Linked DNA regions of Homo sapiens: region 2 is linked to region 1. Evidence: promoter capture Hi-C in human tissues and cell types (Jung and others, 2019). All regions are on one chromosome and are shown on one strand. The core of a region is centred on a gene start or on the middle of the fragment in contact, and the rest is flanking DNA. Distances in the headings are between cores, read along the strand shown. Region 1 holds the start of MANF (mesencephalic astrocyte derived neurotrophic factor). Region 2 overlaps HYAL2 (hyaluronidase 2).

Region 1 (6,872 bases), core at 4,021-6,520:
CAGGGGACTCTTCTCATGCCTGCCCAGTTGGCCCAGCAAGATGGTGCTGGCATGAAGTCTGTGCAGGGCCCCCAGCTGAGGCTCTGGTTCTGTTCCCTTTGCAGGTCATTACTCCCTACACTTTGACGCCTTCCACCACCCTCTGGGTGATACCCCCCCAGCCCTCCCTGCCCGGACCCTGCGCAAGGTAATGTACTGAAGCGGCAGCCCCACCAGGCTGTGAGATGAGTCATCTCGTCTGCTCTAGAACCACCCTTGGGGTCTACAGGAGGAACTGGAGCCCTCCCCTTCACCTCTCTCCCCAGCCTGGCAGAAGCTGGGGGTGGCCAGAGCCACACTTGAGCTGCAGGTGCACATTTGTGTCCTGCAGCAAATGTGATGGGGGCAGGGAGATCAGAGGGTCCTGGAGACAACAACACACAGTACCAAGAGTGTGTGGGCAGTGAGCACTGGGAAACCTGGGGGCTCTCAGCCAGCACCAAGGTATCAACACACTGTAGTTCGCTAGCTAAACAAATGTTCCTGTGGTGGATCAGAGAGCATTTCAAACTAGAATTCAGTAAAAGCAAGAACTTTATGAAAAACTCAGGAGAGTAAAATTTCCTACCTGTTAGCTTGTCTGCAAATTGGAAAAGACTGAGTCTATCACAGATTTTAGCAGCAGAATACATTCCTCTGGTCCACGGCCCACCAGGGTTCTTTCTGCCCCTCCTCAACAGGCCTGATGACCCAGCCTTTATGTCAGTATCCCAGAGCCACCGACGGCAGCCTGGGACCTGGGACCAGGGGGCACCAATGCCCAGCAGCCAGGGCAGGGCAATTTTTTGGCCACAGAAATGCAGATGATTCTGGAGTTCCACTGGCTTAGGGGTGGTGGGAGGAGCTGGGAGCTTGCTGCTGAAGAAACAAGAAACATGCTGTTGATGAGGGTTAAAGTTCATTCATAAGCAGGCTCTTGGTCTTCCTATGGCGGGCAAGTCAGCCTGTCTGGAGAGAGGGATTCTAACATGCCCACCCTTTCCTTCGCAGTCTCCTCTCCACCCTATCCCAGCCTCCCCCACAAGCCCCCAGTCAGGTCTGGACGGCAGCAACTCTACGCTGTCCGGCAGTGCCAGCAGCGGCGTGTCCTCCTTGAGTGAGAGTAACTTTGGGCACTCCTCGGAGGCCCCACCTCGCACTGACACCATGGACTCCATGCCAAGTCAGGCCTGGAATGCTGACGAAGATCTTGAGCCACCCTACCTCCCTGTCCACTACAGCCTCTCTGAGTCTGCCGTCCTGGACTCCATCAAGGCCCAGCCATGCCGAAGCCACTCAGCCCCAGGGTGCGTCATCCCTCAGGACCCCATGGACCCGCCTGCGCTGCCGCCCAAGCCCTACCACCCCCGCCTGCCGGCCCTGGAGCACGATGAGGGGGTGCTGCTGCGTGAAGAGACTGAGAGGCCTCGAGGCCTGCACCGCAAGGCTCCATTGCCTCCTGGGAGCGCTAAGGAGGAGCAGGCCCGCATGGCCTGGGAGCACGGCCGAGGGGAGCAGTGAGGGGCAACGAGGCGGCTGGGATGCCGCCCTCAGTAAGCAGCTTGCCAATCACTCCAGGTCTGAAAAGCAAGTCCCCCAGCCCCACCCCAGGGAGCCAGAGAGGCTTGCACTCAGGAGAGAACCACCCCCAAGTCTCCGTTCTACTGCCGTGAACTCATGTGTTGCCATGTACAGAGGCCACAGCAGCATGAAGGGTTGTGGCTTCCCTTTTTATTTTTTTACATTTCCATTTCTATGGGTTTTCCTTTCTTTCCTTTATGCAGTAGATGCTTTCTTCCTCCTGCAGTTCTGGACCATGTGGAGCTACATGGAGAAATTGCACAGACAGAATCACTTTGCCACACTGCAGGGCCCAGGAGTGGGAGCCCAGGCCCTCCCTCCAGGGTAGAGATGCACCGAATGGAAATTGCACTAAGGACCTCTTCCTTTGCTGTATGGACAGAAGAGTTCATGGTTGCATTCAGGGATTGCAAGGACCATATAGACATGTCACAGGTGGAAAAAGGGCCACAAGCCGTTTTGCACAAATGCCTGCCCACCTGCCCCTCTTCCATCCAGGAGTGTGCTACTGAGGGGCTGGCTGGACCAACCTGCTGGCTCAGGCATGTGACTGGCCTAACTGCATGCCCAGGGCACTGCCAGGGTTCAATGGGCCAGCCGTCTCCTACTCCACCTTGGATTTTTCTCTCCATCACATCATTTCTGACCATTTGCTCCCTTCCATTCTTGAAACACCTCATGCCCCACAGGAGCCCCAGTGGTGACTGGATCTGCAAGGGTTATCTCCCGCCCTCTGGGGTTTGAGTGGAGGTATGGAGCCAGAGAGGCTATCCTAGCTACCTTCCTCCTAGGGGGAGCTGGTCCCCTTCCTATGTGGTAGAGAGACTGGTGTAAGAGTGTGGGGTGTGGCAGGCGCCGGAAATCCTCAAAGCTTTCAGAAGCATCCAGAATGCCTACCATCAGCTCCTGAATCAGGGATTTTCAGCACTACCTCTGAGCCATGGGGTTGGCTGCCCAGCCAGGCTTCCAGGCCCTGAGGACATGTGGTCAGGTTCAGCAGGCTCCTGGGTAAAGAGGGTGGGAGGGGGCTTCTCCTTTTGGAAGCAGATAGCCATGCAGGTAGAATTGTCATCTCCCAAGTGGCCACATACAGCAACCCACTCCAGGCCATGGGGACCACCACTCAGGGTTCGGGGCTGGCAGGAGGGTAGTTTCTCCAGTCTCCCCAGTCTGTTGGTGTCTTTATAGGAAACTATAAAGCAGAGCAGTGGTGTCTTTAGAGGAAACTCATTCAAGTCAGGGCACTGATTTTCCTCTCAGTTTATTATTTGGGGGGATAGGGTCAGGTGGGTATAGTAGTACTTTACCAGGGTGCTTTTAAGTTACTTTAAAAAAAGCCTACAAAATATTTTTTTTCTTTTATTTGCTCGAGTTCACATTAATGATGGTCACAAGGCTGCCTTGTTGGGCAGGCGTATTGCCCCCAGTTCCTCTTCTGCTGGCCTGTATGACCTCCACAGCCAGGCCCTGGGCCCAAGCCCCTTGTCCCTTCTCCACTGCCCCTCTTTCCAGACAGTAAAGGCCATGGTCAGTGTGTTTTTCTCTTGTAAACAAACCCCAGCTTGTTTAACAGAAATGCTAATAACCTACTGGGAAAGATGGAGGTCTAAATTACCTCCAGGGTTTTTCTGGGGGTTTATCACCAGTGTGGGTCCCTTCTGATACCACCAGGTTCACTCCAGGCAGAGTGGGGCGGAAGGCTGCTGAGGATATGGGTCAGTTACAGCAGCCCTCACCTCAAAGGGCTGGCCTGCTTCTCAGCCTACATTCATTTGCAAGCTTCAATCTCTGGACCATCTGGTGTTCACAGGTGTTAGAGGGTTAGGGGTTAGGGGCTAGTTTTGGATTTGATTCATAGGTAGGAGGGCTTAGATTTTAAGGCACTTCTGAAAGTCAATCCCTGGACAAGGCAGTCATCACATAAGAACAGCTACCTTCTCCACTTGGTGGCACAAGAGGTAGGGAGGGGAGTATGGGTTCATTTGGCTTCGCATTATGCAAGGTGAAACCGTTTGTTTTCCCTCTCCATTTTCCCTAACTAAATGAAAAGGACACATTCTGAAATCCCTTTTGTTGGAGAATAAGTCAGTCTGAGGGGAAATGGGAGGCCAGAGATGAGAACCCTTTGAAAAGATTGTAAAATACTGATTTTCATTCTTTCAAGCTTATTTGTAAATACCTATTTGAATGCTGTGTATTTGTACAGGAATTTGAGCAAAAAATGTATAGAGTGTGATGTCCAATTGGTATTCAGCACTATAAATGTGTTTTTAACCTCCCGCATTCTGTGCTTATTTAAAACAAGGAAACTTCTAACCATTTCTTTTGTGTATTCATGTTTAAAGAAAAAAAGTGATTTAAAAATGATCTTACCTGTACCAGAAAAGCAAAGTTAAAGGAAACAAAATTTGTACCATTGTCCCAAGAGGTATTTTACTGTATATATTGTGGTAGCATGTTCAAAATCCAACAAGTAATGTGAATTTTAGATGTAAATATCTGCCACTTGATTTTTTTTCCCCCTTTCCCCACTTCCTTGACTGCTGTGATGTGAATTAAAGATAAATACGTGATACTGATCCACTGAATTCACTGAATGGGAGCAGAGGATGTGCCCCTCTCCAACCCTTGTCGCCGGGCTCCAAGCCCTTTTTAGCCCTATAGACATGTCCTTTTTGCACTGAGTAGAGCCAACGGTTCCCGCATCCTGCCTTGAAGGCAGGCAGCCAGGAGGGCACTTGAAAGGAGGGCAGTCGAAAAGGAAACATCCTCCAGTGCTTCTCTGGTGATTCCCGGGACCCCACTCAGGAGGTCCCACGGCAGCGGGGGACCCCGAGGGCCTAGCCGGGGAGGCAGGAGGAGGCTGGCCAGCCACCAAGCCACGATTCAGAGCTTGTAAGGGCACCTCCCGAGCCCCTCACCTTCCCACTCTGAGGCGACCCCATGTCCTCGACCGATGATCTGGCCCGGGCGCTTCCCTCCACGGTCTAGAGTGGCGGCCCAGCTTTGAGCTTGGCGCGCCTTGAGCCCTTCCTTCAGATGTCCCGCAGTCCGTCCACCCCGCACGTCTCCTATCAGCCTATGCACGGCGGGCTCCGGTCAGGTGGAGGATCAGCAGGTGGGCTTTCAAAGGTTGGATCCGTTGCCCACGCGAATGAAAGAAGAAAAAAGAAACCTCTTTGAGCCTTGCCTGCGGCCGCCCGCCCTTCCTGCCTAACCTGTTGTCTTGGCTGACCCCAGAACTCCTGCACCACGAGTCGGAGTCCGGGCGAGGAGATCAGCAGGGGTTTTCGAGGGAGCCTGGGGCCCAGGGCAGGGGTACGCGGGTCAACTCAACAGATGTAAGGCGTGGCCGAACCCCATTCAGCTAGCAGTACCCAGCCTCAGCCACAGTCGCTGCCCTTACCCAAGATGGCGGCCCACACCGCTTCCGTCGCTGCTGTAGTCGCTTCCTGCGGCCAGCCCGGGTTCAATCAGCGGCCGACAACTGTCTAGGGCTCAGACACCACCAGCCAATGAGGGAGGGCAGCGTGGAGCCGCCCGTCTGGGCTCGCGGCTCCTGGACCAATGGGGAAGTGGCATGTGGGAGGGCGCCGGGGGGCCCCCCGCCAATGGGGAGCTACGGCGCGCGGCCGGGACTTGGAGGCGGTGCGGCGCGGCGGGTGCGGTTCAGTCGGTCGGCGGCGGCAGCGGAGGAGGAGGAGGAGGAGGAGGATGAGGAGGATGAGGAGGATGTGGGCCACGCAGGGGCTGGCGGTGGCGCTGGCTCTGAGCGTGCTGCCGGGCAGCCGGGCGCTGCGGCCGGGCGACTGCGAAGGTGCGGGATAGGGGGCCGGGGGCCGCGCTCCGTGACCGTTCTGGCGGCGGCGCTGAACCCCACAACATCACCAGACGGCCGGGGCCAAGAGGGCGAGGGCGGGGGCGGGGGCGGGGGCGACAGCAGGTCCCCGCGGGGCCTGCATGAGGAGGCTCCGGCGCCCGCCCTAGTAAATCTTTCTTGGGCCTAGAAAACATTGGTCCGACGAAGAAAAGTTGAGACTAGATCCCGTTGAAAACTTGTCCTGAAATCTCCATCACTCCTGAGTTATTGTCCCCACCACCATCTAGAGGTTACCGCTCCCCGTTCGGCGTCGGGAGCTCCAGGGCTGGCCGTGGGTGCTGCGCCCTGTCTGTTGGGATCACGAAGCTGCACCTCTGGGTCCGCTGTTGTATTTGGAAATTAGCAGCAGCATTTTGATCATTTTTCTCTTCACCTTCCAGTCTCTCCATTTATGAGGTCACAGTGAGTCCCGTCTCAAGGACACGTGTTCACCATGGGCTTAAACTTGATGAAAGGAGCAGGGAGAAGTCGTTTATAGGTCATTGGGTGATGCTTGGTCCTTTGATGCCCTGGGTGTACCAGGGGACCCCCGCCACTTGGAACCGGGTTCTGTCTACCTGTAGACACCTGAGAAAAATCGGTGATGGAAAAGCTCACCTCTAATGATTCATCTCCGTGTCTCCTATTAAAATTGCTGGCGGAGTTCTTTTCTGGTGGATTGGAACAGCTTGGTGATTGCTGAGCATCTCCCGTCCCTCTCTTTTCCAGTTTGTATTTCTTATCTGGGAAGATTTTACCAGGACCTCAAAGACAGAGATGTCACATTCTCACCAGCCACTATTGAAAACGAACTTATAAAGTTCTGCCGGGAAGCAAGAGGCAAAGAGAATCGGTTGGTAAGTAGCTGGTGATCCTCCCCAACTGGCCCTGGCTCATGTTAACCCTCGGCTTCACCAGCCGTTTGATAAAAGGCCTTGCCCACCTCTCTGTTCAGGAAGCCAGCTACTCTCTCCATAAACTAATGTGAGAAGACTGAAGTGCTTCTATGTCCTTCCCAAAGCAGCATGTGTTCTGCAACTGTGATTTTTTTTTATCCTGTTAGTCTTTATTAAGCACCTACTATGTGCTAGGCACTGGGAATATCAGGGGAAAGAAGTGACAGTCGGACACACAAATAATGCAATGTCTGGGTGTCATGAAGAAAATGGACCAGCAGGTGCTGATTTAGAGTGGCCAAGAAGTCTCTGAGGAAGGGTTATCATTGAAGTGGGGTAAGACCATCCCATACAGGGAACAGCAGTGTGAGTGCCCAGAGGCCTGAAAGAGTGTGGCATGTATGTGGACAGGAGAAGGTGACAGGGTGCCTACAGGATAGGCAAGGGCCGAATCCAAGACAAAAGCCCTAGTGAAGCAATGGGTTTTCTAACTTGAATTTCTCTGACAGTCTCTGGCT
Region 2 (6,868 bases), core at 4,369-6,868, 1.1 Mb before region 1:
GCGGCCGGGCAGAGGCTGCAATCTCGGCACTTTGGGAGGCCAAGGCAGGCTGCTGGGAGGTGGATGTTGTAGCGAGCCGAGATCACGCCACTGCACTCCAGCCTGGGCACCATTGAGAGACTCCGTCTGCAATCCCAGCACCTCGGGAGGCCGAGGCTGGCAGATCACTCACGGTTAGGAGCTGGAGACCAGCCCGGCCAACACAGCGAAACCCCGTCTCCACCCAAAAAATACGAAAACCAGTCAGGCGTGGCGGCGCGTGCCTGCAATCGCAGGCACTCGGCAGGCTGAGGCAGGAGAATCAGGCAGGGAGGTTGCAGTGAGCCGAGATGGCAGCAGTACAGTCCAGCTTCCGCTCGGCATCAGAGGGAGACCGTGGAGGGAGAGGGGGAGGGGGAGGGGGAGGGGAGGGGGAGGGGGAGGGGGAGCCACTGCAATCGGCCACTGTGGTTTCTTTTTTTTTTTTTTTTGAGATGGAGTCTCGCTCTGTCACCCAGGCTGGAGTGCAGTGGCGCGATCTCAGCTCACTGCAACTTATGCCTCCCAGGTTCAAGCAATTCTCCTGCCTCAGCCTCCCGAGTAGCTGGGACTACAGGCGCTTGCTACCATGCCTGGCTAATTTTTGTATTTTTAGTAGAGACAGGGTTTCACCATATTGACCAGGCTGGTCTCGAACTCCTGACCTTGTGATCCGGCCGCCTCGGCCTCTCGAAGTGCTGGGATTACAGGCGTTAGTCACTGCGCCCGGCCCTAGCTGTGGTTTCTTAAAAGCGTGTCAACTAAAGTCAGACAACTTACACTTCAGAAGAAAGTAACAGTAACCTGTTTATGTACATACATAAGCCACTTTCATACCTGCCTACCAATGTATGGACTTCAGAGTAATGTGGCCTATATTTTCCCAGGATTTTTTTTTTTTTTTTTTTTGAGATGGAGTTTCACTCTTGTTGCCCAGGCTGGAGTGCAATGGCGCAATGTCAGGTTGCTGCAACCTCCGCCTCCTGGGTTCAAGTGATTCTCCTGTCTCAGCCTCCTGAGTAGCTGGGATTACAGGCATGAGCCACCATGCCTGGCTAGTTTTTTGTATTTTCAGTAGAGACAGAGTTTCTCCATGTTGGTCAGGCTGTTCTCGAACTCCCAACCGCAGGTGATCCACCCGCCTCAGCCTCCCAAATTGTTGGGATTACAGGCATGAGCCACCCCGCCAGGGCTGGGATTGTTCTTTTGCTGTTTTTTTTTTCTCTTCCTTCCTTCTCCCTATTTTCTCTTCACACTGCATGAGACTTTACAACCTGCTAAAAATGAGCTTTCCGGACCTACTTATCTAGCAATGAGAGATCAGATGAAACCTGAGACCAGATACTCATTTTCTTGCAAAATGCTTTCTCCAAAAGATTTTGAAAAAGAAAATGGGGTAAATGTGAAAGGAAAGTATCTTGGGCCTCTTCAAGCTGGGAACTGCTCAGGACAAATCTGCCTCCCATTCTATTCAAGTCATCCTTTTGCTCACAGAGATAGATGCATATTCTGATTGCCTCCTTTGGAAAGACTTACCAGAAACTCAAAAGAATGCAACCATCTGTCTCTCACCTATCTGTGACCTGGAAGCCCCCAGTGCTTTGAGCCTGGGAGCCTTGATTTGAGCAGTCTCCACCTTTCTTTCTGGAACTAATGTACTTCTTACATATTGATTAATGTCTCATGTCTCCCTAAAATCTATAAAACCAAGCTGTGCCCCAACCGCCCTGGGCACATGTCCTCAGGACTTCCTGAGGCTGTGTCACCAGCAAGTCCTCAACCTCGGCAAAATAAACTTTCTAAGTTAACTGAGACCTTTGTCAGATTTTCTGGGTTCACAGCTGATTCAGAAGCTGGTTATTGACACCTGCTAGGTGCTTGGGCCCAGCCTTGCCTGCCAGAGTAGGTTGAAGGAAACACCATGTCCCTGCCCAAGTGAAAGTGCTACCTGGATCTGAGTCAAGTCTGAGACTGAGCCACTGTAGCCAGGCCACCCCTGGCACGGTGGCCACTGAAGCAACGAAACTCACAGTTAACTACCATCTGGGTTGGGTCCTACAGGCTGCCTGGGATAGAAAAGCTGGCAGGGCTGAGGGAAAGAAGGGCCCAGGATGCTGGGGACAGCATGAGACTTGTACACAAGATCAAGCCCCAGAAGTGGTGACTGCTGATCCAGTTCAGGAAGCAGGGTCCCAGAGTGATGACCATGTAGGCCCAGAGAGCCTGGCACAACTCTTGAGGGCTGAGGGAACAGAACATCAAGGCAACCCCTGGCCCCCCTCCTCAAGGATTCATGCCACCTCCTGGTGCCCCCAGAAACCTAGTGCTGCAGTTGGCCCAATCCAGGTAACCACCAGGCCAGCATTCTCCAGCTGGCCTCAGTCCAAGGGAGAAGCTCTAATGGTGGAACCATAGGAAGAATCTGAGGGTGCCTGAAATCCTCCTCCACCCCAGGGCCCTGCCCACAGGCCTGCTCCTACTGGGCTGGTCCAGTAGGATTGGCTCAAATGGTGTGTGTGTGCGCATATGTCTGGGGTCCATCAGCTTGATGGTCCAGTCCCGCCTGCTGTCTCCGGTTGTTCAACACTTCAGATCTCTGAGCCGCATCACTCCCCATTACCTTATTCCTACCCACTCCCCGCTTTCCCCACAGGACAGTGCTGGCTCTCCCTGAGTTGCACTTTCCCTAGGACCATCTTTTAGGTCCTCCGGGGGAAGAAATGTGAGGTTCATAAAGGTTTATATGGAGGGGGTCACAGCTCGATGGGTACTGGTCACAGCTATGCAGGAGAGGTCACAGTTGCGGAGGAGTCAGTTATTTGGAGACGGTAACAGCTGTATGGGGTCACACATGGGAGGGGTTACAGGTATGTAGGGGTCATAGCTAGGTGGGAAAGGTCACAGTGGTGTGGTCTGGATCACCTCTGTGTGTTGGGTGTGGGTGGGGTAGCTCAGAGGTATGCATGGGTCACATCTGTGTGGGGGAGGTCACAGGTGCAGGAAGTCACAGGTATGGGGGACAGGCCACAGCTCCTTTCTCCTTTCCTGCTGTCCTTTTGCTAAGTGCCATCATCTTATTGTGGCAACTTTTTTTTTGAGACAGAGTCTTGCTCTGTCACCCAGGCTGGAGTTCAGTGGCCCATTCTCCGCTCACTGCAACCTCCTGGGGTCAAGTGATTCTTGTGTTTCAGCTGCCCAAGCAGCTAGGACTACAGGTGTGCACCAACAAACCCAGCTAATTTTTTTTTTTTTTTTTGAGACAGAGTCTCACTCTGTCGCCCAGGCTGGAGCGCAGTGGTGTGATCTTGGCTCACTGCAACCTCCACCTCCCGGGTTCAAGCGATTCTCCTGCCTCAGCCTTCTGAGTAGCTGGGATTACAAGCAGGCACCACCATACCCGGCTAATTTTTTATTTTCAGTAGAGATGGGGTTCACCACGTTGGTCAGGCTGGTCTCTAATTCCTGACCTTGTGATCTGTCCGCCTCGGCCTCCCAAAGTGCTGGGATTAGAGGCGTGAACCACCAGGCCCGGATGCCCAGCTAATTTTTGTATTTTTAGTAGAGACAGGGTTTCAGCATGTTGGCCAGGCTGGTCTCAAACTCCTGGCCTCAAGTGATCCACCTGCCTTGGCCTCCCAAAGTGCTGGGATTACAGGGGTGAGCCACCGCACCCGGCCCATCATTTTATTGACCAACACCTGAATCTTCTCTCCAGCCTGGCCTCCCCCCACCATGGCCATGAGCACCTGGGACCCCTCCACTTGTATGTGCACCTCCTCCTTCACTGTGTGAATTTACCACGTCACCTTTCCAGTGTTACCACCTCACTCTCTCCTCTCCATTCTCTACCCATCACCGGCGAAAGAGGTGAGGGAAGGATATCTTTACAGCCTGGGTTGGCACTGGCTTGGCCGGGCTTGTTTCTCCCATCTGGCATCTCGGTCTTTGCATCTAGTGTGCATCTACCTCTATTTTGTCACTCCCACAAGGACGGGGGTCTTTGTTGGTGTGGTTCATAGATGCATCATCGATGCATCCCCAGCACCTAGCCCAGCACAGGCACACTGTGTGCTCAGCGTTTACTGAATGAGTAAGTCAGTATTAGGTGAAGTCAGGCCTGGTGCTGCTCTAGGGCTGCCCCTCCTGCCTCTGCCCACAGCAGCCACTAAGCCACACCCCAGCCCTGAACTGTTCACCTTCACCACCTCCAACTTCCTCCAGCCTCTGCCCAGGATTTGTTCCTGAGCATCGAGCTGCCGCCCTCACCTTTTAGAACCCAATGTGGGAAGCATCTCCAAGGGCACCACCCCTGCTCCCCTGCTGCTGGCTGCCCTCACCACTCAACGGCTTCTTGAGTCTGTCTCCCCAGAGCCAGAGCCTCCTGAAGCAGGGCTGCGTGGTGAGTCATCACGGACATGGGCGGGACCCCAGGTGTGGGGTTGCTGGCTGAGGGGAGAGGCAGAATGCACTCCCGTCAGAGGCAGGGCTAGTGAAGCAGCTCAGAGCTGGTCTGACAACTCCAGCTGCTCCTTCTTTCCTCAGGGACAGCCAGAGACTAGCCATACTCTCCCACAGCCAGGACGGAGCAGACCTTAGAAGATGTTCCTGCTCCCAGGCCCAAGATGCCACCTCCCAGCCCCATCAGGCATCTCTAGAATGGGACAGGGACTGAACCTCACGATTCAGATCCCAATCCCCTGCCCACCTCCCACCACCAGATCCGAGGGAGGGCTGTGACCCTGATGAGAGGTGTATGTGGCTGGTGTCCACTGCCCTTGGGAGCAGGGACTGGAGGAGACACCCTTGCCTGTGGGAACAGCAGGGAAGATCAAACGTTTCTCCCTTGGGTTGGCAAGGAGGCTGGCACTGGTCCAGCTGGGAGGACAGGGGCAAGTGGCAGAAACACAATGAGCCCTGTCCCTCACACAAGGCGGGGCCTGACTCCCTTGCAACCAATACGGAGAAAGCAACGTCCTTGGTGTTGGGATGGAATGTGGGTCCCTCCACTCCCACTGGGGTGGCTCCTGCCCCAGCAGAACAGCTCCAGAGTGGGCAGCTCTGGGCCCCCAAGTCTTGGTGAATACATCTTACACGAGAAGTCCCCAGCAGAGGGTTTCATAGAGACAGAGCTGAGCTCAAACCCCATGGGAAATTCTGGAATCTCGCATACACTTTAGCCCAGGTACAAAATCCAAGCAGAGAAGCAATTGTTTTATGTTTAATTTACAAAAGAGACCCCAAAATAATAATAATAATAAACTATCTAGGGCAAGGGAGTAGGGTCAGGTCCTCCCCAGCCCAGCTGTACCCTCCTTCCCCTCTGGCAGGGAGAGAAGGGGCCTCCCAGGGACTTCCCCTCCCCCTTAGAACAGGGGGGTGCGAGCTGGTATGGATGCCCTCCTGGGCTTCCTGGGGGCTCTGCCCACTCCAGACTCCAGTTTGTCCACCCCCTGCAGGGTCCTACATGCCTAAGAGAGCCCTTGTGGTAGAGGCCAGCTTGCTAGGCAGCTAGGCAGGAGACCCCTACAAGGTCCAGGTAAAGGCCAGGGCTGCCAGAGCCAGCAGACTGGTGAGGTGGGACCCAGCCCAGGCCTCGCTGGCACCTCCAGCTGCCTGCCTATGGTCCCACTGGCATTGCTCACCACTCCAGCCCAAGTAGCACTGGCAGCGGAAGTGTGTCTGCAGGTGGTCAATGTCGGCCCAACTGAGCTCCCCCACAGGTCGCAGCTGGGGTTCACCAGGTGCATGGCCAGGCACTAGGCGGAAACTGTTGGTGCTGAGATGCAGGAAGGTACTGGCACTGGGGTTGCGGCGCACACAGCGCCCATGGCCATGGCACTGGGCCCGGCTGCAATATTGGGTGGCCCAGGACACATTGACCACGTAGGGGACCAGCAGCCGTGTCAGGTAATCTTTGAGGTACTGGCAGGTCTCCTGGAGGCAGAAGACAAGGACCACAGGTCAGGGTCAGCTGCCTCAGCCCACAGGCCCAGATGGAAACTGTGTCCACACTGTGATGACTATACCTTATTTTAACTGCACACATTCATACATTCAATCTGCACCTGAGCCACACAGTCCCTGCTCCTGCTGAGAAGTGGGTGGGGGTACAGACCGGAACCCAGTTGGGCAGATGGGGAAGGGCGGAACTCAACAGCTGTTCAGGACAGCATTTCCTCTTTCCTGAGAGCAGGGCCGGGGTGACCTCCTCCTGTTGCCACCAGGGATGCCTCGGGTGGGAGACAGACAAGGGGACCAGACTAGGATTGCCCACCTGAGGTTGGTAGCCAAAGGCCCTAACTCTCTGTCTGTCCCATAGACTGAGCTCTGGCAGGCTGGGTCTCGCTTACCGTGCTTGTGGTGTACCCCGCGTCACCCCAGAGGATGACACCAGCTGCGCCCAGGGCCGCACTCTCGCCAATGGTAGAGATGAGGTCCATCTATGCAGGAAAAGGGATGGTCACTGGGGAAGACTGAGACCACAGGGTGACAGGAACAGACAAGGAGGGCAGACCCCAGCCTGATTCAACCTGCTGAACTCCCAGCTCAACCCCCATTTCACGTCCAGGCAGAGGCTCATTTGTTTTGCTTCCTTTTTAAACATTTAAGTCCATTTCCACCCCACTTTTGGGGCTCAGTTTCCCAAGCCAAGGGCACACTTGAGCCTAGGTGCAGCTATCAGGATGGATTCCAAAGTTAGAAGGCCTGGGCCCCAGTCCCAGCTCTGCTCTGGATTTGCTGGGAAGCTTTGGGCAAACTTCTCAGCATCGCTGTGCCTCAATTGTTCTCATCTGAAAAATGGGGATAATGATGTCACCCTTTCAGGTTATAGACAGAATGATTTGAGGGG

Evidence for each region. The method cuts DNA at HindIII sites, captures the fragments that hold promoters and counts their contacts. A contact is called where the count stands out against the background at its distance.
Region 2: a fragment that was not itself captured here is called in contact with the fragment with the promoter of MANF in region 1 in 1 of the 25 tissues and cell types used here (dorsolateral prefrontal cortex).

The regions. Positions count from the first base shown.
Region 1 is chr3:51,380,021-51,386,892 of GRCh38, forward strand. It overlaps MANF (mesencephalic astrocyte derived neurotrophic factor), which reads left to right and starts at 5,271. Exons shown (of 4, transcript NM_006010.6): 1 at 5,271-5,416; 2 at 6,188-6,315. The coding sequence starts at 5,323. DOCK3 (dedicator of cytokinesis 3) reads left to right here. Exons shown (of 53, transcript NM_004947.5): 52 at 105-187; 53 at 1,030-4,178. The coding sequence ends at 1,539. RefSeq lists an enhancer at 4,687-5,036 and a silencer at 5,097-5,466. The HindIII fragment of the contact is 5,502 bases long and covers 3,571-6,872 here.
Region 2 is chr3:50,312,588-50,319,455 of GRCh38, forward strand. It overlaps HYAL2 (hyaluronidase 2), which reads right to left. Exons shown (of 4, transcript NM_003773.5): 3 at 6,369-6,458; 4 at 5,221-5,952. The coding sequence ends at 5,542. Among named protein-coding and RNA genes, the nearest start is that of HYAL2, 6.7 kb to the right of the region's middle. The HindIII fragment of the contact is 9,182 bases long and covers 1,028-6,868 here.